Regions from separate parts of the Homo sapiens genome. Here region 2 is linked to region 1. Evidence: promoter capture Hi-C in human tissues and cell types (Jung and others, 2019). All regions are on one chromosome and are shown on one strand. Each heading gives the region's core, a stretch centred on a gene start or on the middle of the fragment in contact. The rest is flanking DNA. Distances are from core to core; before and after follow the strand shown.

The links. Contacts are between HindIII fragments. The study calls those that stand out against the background at their distance.
Region 2: a fragment that was not itself captured here is called in contact with the fragment with the promoter of CCDC7 in region 1 in 1 of the 25 tissues and cell types used here (dorsolateral prefrontal cortex).

Annotation. Positions count from the first base shown.
Region 1 is chr10:32,444,623-32,447,489 of GRCh38, forward strand. It overlaps CCDC7 (coiled-coil domain containing 7), which reads left to right and starts at 1,518. Exons shown (of 44, transcript NM_001395015.1): 1 at 1,518-1,775. LOC101929431 (a long non-coding RNA gene) reads right to left here and starts at 1,434. Exons shown (of 3, transcript NR_120660.1): 1 at 991-1,434. RefSeq lists an enhancer at 1,069-1,388 and a silencer at 1,459-1,688. The HindIII fragment of the contact is 7,178 bases long and covers 1-2,867 here.
Region 2 is chr10:32,957,998-32,960,497 of GRCh38, forward strand. ITGB1 (integrin subunit beta 1) reads right to left here and starts at 233. Exons shown (of 16, transcript NM_002211.4): 1 at 148-233. RefSeq lists a silencer at 6-585 and an enhancer at 756-805. The HindIII fragment of the contact is 6,847 bases long and covers 1-2,500 here.

The sequences.
Region 1 (2,867 bases), core at 268-2,767:
TTTAGTTCTATCTTTCCTATCCCTTTCATTTACAACGGTTTTGGGAGATTTGGAATTTAGCAATTCAATTCTTTCTAAACTACTTTCTTAATTTTATTGCCAACTTTAAAAAATAAAAAATTGTTGGTGGAAAGCTTAATAAATCTGATCATTTATATGTACATTTTCTTTGTTACTGACATAAAACACACATACTGAAAAGTGCATAAATAAGCATATGCCTTCATGTTTTTTTTTTTTTTTCTTTTTTAGATGGAGTCTCGCTCTGTTGCCCAGGCTGGAGCGCAATGGCACAATCTCGGCTCACTGCAACCTCCACCTCCTGGGTTCAAGTGATTCTCCTGCCTCAGCCTCCTAAGTAGCTGGGATTACAGGCACCCGCCATCACGCCCGGCTAATTTTTGTATTTTTAGTAGAGATGGGGTTTCACCATGTTGGCCAGGCTAGTCTCGAACTCCTGACCTCGAGTGATGCACTGCCTCAGGCTCCCAAAGTGCTGGGATTACAGGTGCGAGCCACCACGCCCAGCCTGCCTTCATGAATTTTTGAACACACCCAGAAAGAGCAGAAGACAGAACATTTCTGGTACACCAGAAGATGTGTTGTTTTCCCTTTCCAGGCAACCCCAATGGTAACTCCTAGTGGTGTGATGGAGCTAGCCTACACCAGCTCTTGGGAGCTGATAAATTTTCAGGAATCTCTTGTGAGGCATTCAGATTTTACTGGAAAATTAGAAATAATTAGATATAATGAATTTTCAGAGTTTTAGAAAATAGTTGAAATCTACTAAGTCAAATCTAAGGTCTCCTTTAAACCTCCTGGTTTTTAGTTTTAGTTCCATCTTTCCTATTCCTTTCATTTACACACAGGCATTATTAACAGTTAAATTGTATCAATTAATATTTTAAAATATTAAAAACATTTTACTTCGTTCAACTTAAAGACAAAATTAATATATTTCTTGAGGTCAAATTATCTAAAAAACTCTACCTTGTAAAATTGCATCTTAAAGCAGTGCGTGGAAACTGATGGCAAGAAACCACTTAAGTGTCACAACTCTGCTTCAAGTTAATTCCTAGTCCATTTGATTTTGTTTTGCTTTTAAGATCACGAAGCTGGTGTACACTTCCGTGCGAGCTTAGAGTGGTAATGAACTCCACAATACACTGAAAAGAGCTTGAGGAGACAGCAGATGAAGGACTGGGGCTCTGGTTTTGTAGCTGAAGCCCAGGTTCTCAAAGGTCCTACCAGGCCTGTACTTTATTTCTCCTCCGCGGGCCTCTAGGCCAAATGCCTGGATGAATCTGCGCTCAGGGGGCGTCCTGGAATTACACTTGGGAGAGAATAAGAAAGGAGGAGGCCGATGTGCCCATGGACATTATTAACCTTCCGGCAAATCCCCACAGCCGCCAAACTGCGTCTCCTCTTCCGCTCTCGGCGCGCAGCTCACGCTCGCAGCGTCAGCGACGCCGGCGGCGCCAAGGCGTCGTGGCGTCGGGCGCCTGGGACGTGGCTTCAACGGCCCCATCCGGCGCCGGCGGCGGGTGCCCGGCGGTCTTTGCTGCCGCCCGGGGGCGCAGAGGCCGGGCCTTTTCTTTCAGCACAAACGTCAGTTTGTAAAAGGGAGGTGCTGGAGTCTGAGGAGTTTTCAGGCTTCCGTCTCGAAGGAAGTCTGGCAGGCTCGGAATTGTCATCTTCCTCAGGCAAATAGTTTTTCACCTTAGAGCCAGCAAGGCCAAACCGCCCAGTCACCCGACTTCCCACAGTCTCAGCAGGTACACAGGGCGGGGAGCCTCGGGAGCGGCTCCCTTAGCAGGACCTGAGGGTTTCGGGAGAGTCCTGGCTTTGCACTTAGTTTTCCCGCTGCCTGGCTGCCTCCGTGGCGGTTGTGCTGCTTTTTATGCAGGATGTAGGATCGAAGGCAAATCATCCTTTCCCTACGTCCCCTGCCAACCCCTGCCGCTCTCCTCTATTTTGTACACTTTATCATTAAAGGATTTGAAATGAATGTAAGTTAATCCTTGAAGGATGAAACCAGAAAACATTTGTCGTGGTGGCGGAAAGGGACGGATGCACTTGGGCGAAGTAATGCTGACATCCACTTCCTAGCATTGTTAGGAGGGATAAATGAATTAAATATGTAAAGTCCTTAAATATTTGCTTGCTAATACGAGTATTCATTGCGTGTGACTATTTTTGTATTTATGTGAACTTCATCGGAGCATTTGTCAGGTTCTTTTTTTTTGCACCAAGTGAGCGTTGCCTGCCTGCCTGCCTGCCTGCCTCCCTCCCTCCCTCCCTTCCTTCCTTCCCCTCTTCCCTTCCTCCCTCCCTCCCTCCCTCCCTCCCTCCCTCACACTTTTTTGGGGAGAGAGGACACAATGCAATCCATAACAGCATATACACTTGTTCTTTTTTCCATCGAACTTTCCTCTTGACCATGTTTTCTTCTAGTAATACTGTATTTCTTTACTCCCTTTTATAGTAAAATTTCTCTACAGTGCTTATATTCAATTCATTGTTCCTACTTCCTCTCTTTTGAACGGTAAGTCAGATATTTACCTCGATCATTCTACTGAAATTGTTGCCGTTCTTCAGGTTACAAATGACCTACCTCCATGTTGCCAAATCCAGTGTCAGCTTAGTCTTCATTTTACTTGACTCAGCATTTGACGTAGTTCATCACTCGGTCCTTGGTGATATTTTCTTTTCCTTGCTTTCTATGTATATATAACCTTTTGGTTTTACTTATTGGCTCATTGGCCACTCTTCTTACGTCCTGTTTCCTGGTCCTGATGGTTTTGATGGAATTTTTGATGTTTGCTTGGACCTGAAGGTTTTGATGGAGTTTCTTTGGCAATGTAATT
Region 2 (2,500 bases), core at 1-2,500, 510 kb after region 1:
GCCGCCCCCGCCCCCGCCCCCGCCCCCACCCCCACGCCCGGCACAAAGGTCCCGGCGCGGCCCGGCCGGCGGCTTTAAGTGCTGCCGCGCACAGGAGACCGGAGGCCGCGGCCCGCGCTCCCACACCCGAGGCCCGCCGGCCCCTACCTTTTCCGCGCGGCGTCCGGGGCCCGGCGCGGTGGGCTCGGGCCTGCTGTTCCGCGACTCCCGCTGGGCCTCTCCCGCGGGCTGGCGGGGCCTCCCGGGTGTCGGGCGCGGCGGGTGGCGGCGGCTCCTCCTCCTCAGGGGCGGGAGGAGGGGACTCGGCGGCCCAGAGCCGCCCCCCGGCAGGAAACCAGCCGCGGCCCCGCCTCCTCTGCGCGTCTGATCCCGCTCCCGAGGCCGCCGCCGCCCTCTCCCTCCGGAAACGCATTCCTCTCCCGCCGCGTCAGCCCGGCCCGGGGCTAGGAGGAGGCGGAGGATGGGGCAGGAAGTGCGACCGGGACAAAGGAACCGGCTGCGCGGGAGCGCGCCTGAGGGAGGCCGCGGGGGGCAGGGCCGGGACTGCGTTGAGACAGTCGCCGTGCCTCAGTTTCCTCCTCTGCGAAGGGCGGGAGGAGTCGGACGCGCCCTAGAGCCCCGCGCGTTCCTGGTGTAGCCTGCTGGGCCCGTGTTCTTTAAGTTCCTCTTCCTCGGAGCCGCGCGTTCGACCCTCGCTCCCGTTTGTCCACTGATGTCCCGTTTCGAGCCCGGGAGATCCTGCATCTCGGAAGCCCCCTGAGTCCCGAGGCAAATCGGGACCGTGAGCCCCCCTACCCTGCAGGGCTCCATGGGGCCAAAAACCACGTGGTCCTTCTGGAAGGGAACTGGCTAAGCCAGGACTGCTTTTCTGGAGTGATAATGTGCTTGCCTGTGTCTAAGAGAAAGGTGAAGAATTGGGAAACCCATGGGTGTCACGAAGGGTGGTGAGACTGGGGAACGTTTTAGAAAACCTGGTGAGTTGCGTCCTGCTTTTGATAGATTTATCTGGAGGTACCTTTATGGGGAACAGGGATGAGAAGGAAAAGTTTCTTCCTAAGGAGTACAGTTTCTGTTTCACCTCTTAAAAAAAAAAAATTTGGAGATTGGGGCTGGAAACAACGTTTGAAAGAGAAGGAAACATTCATTATGAGAATGGCTGAACGCATGTCGATTCGATGATTGAAGTCTGTACCAGCCAAAATCATACTGAAACCCAGTAATTTAGTATATGCTACTGGCAAGCTGCTATCCTGGTAGCAGAAAATGCTGTGGGTTCCGCTTGGTGAGCTGCAGCACCCTGTTGGGAAAAGAGCTCAAAAATTACCAGATTTATGAAATAGAAGTGTTTCTCTTGCAGGAGATTAGGGACTGGAATGCCCATTTGGCTGCTGCCAATCAATATAAGAGAAAATGAAGCGATCACATCTAAGAAAATTTGCTCATTACTTACCAGCAAAATCAAAACTTGATTAGCCAATCTGAAGACCTCTAGGAAATGAGCACTATTTTTCCCACTTAATGGATGTTCAAGCTTAAGAGGCTAAATGATGTTCCTATATTAATATCTCAATGGTCAAACTGCCATTAGAACTCAACATTCTTGAATTTTAAAGGTATCGGTTTTACCATTGTTCAGAATTCATCAGAATTGGCCCAGTCTCAGCACAGAAAACTGTATAGTTCAAAAGCATAATTGGTCCGTGCCTGATTTGCACTACAATTTCCAGAATTTTTTTCCCTGTACGTGACTGGTGGAGGCACTAGCTAGTCTTTGCTACAAGAACATTATGAGATTTACATATGCACAACTCTAAACTAAATTAGTTCCTCCAGGACAATTTACTGAGCTTTTTAACACCACCGTCAAGCACTGTTGCAAGGACAGATAATAGGGGCTCAGATAATATCTGATAAATGAATAAATGGGTCCTTTTGCTCTCCCAGGACTGGGCTAGAGCACTTGACTAAACTGATGTGTGAGGTAGCAATTTGTGTACAGAAGTCATGAGTTTTGAGGAAAAAGAAATTAAAGAAACATGTTCTCTAAAAACTGCAGTCATTGGTCAAGAATACGAGTCTACTTGTGATTTCATACAAATAATGGGTGGACAGTGAGCTATGAAATTTATGAATACTCTAAGCAAAGGTTGGTCAGCATACGTGCTAAACAGGAAATCCTGATAAGTAGGAATAGTGCAAGCCACACTGCAACTTTTATCATATTAGGTTGGTGCAAGGTCTACCAGATGTGTCTTGCCTTCCCATGTGTAAGGTCAACCAGATAGCTCTCACCTTTCCATGTCTAAGGTCAACCAGGGGGTGCTTGCCTTCCCGTGTCTAAGGTCGACCAGATGGCTGTGTGCACCAACCTAATAGAACATCATAAGTATCTTGAGTTCAAGATAAATCCATACCTTACCTACACTGTCTCCCAATTATTATCAATTGTCTTCTGCCATCTCTTAAGTCATTATTATGTCAAATAATTAAAGTCGGTGTT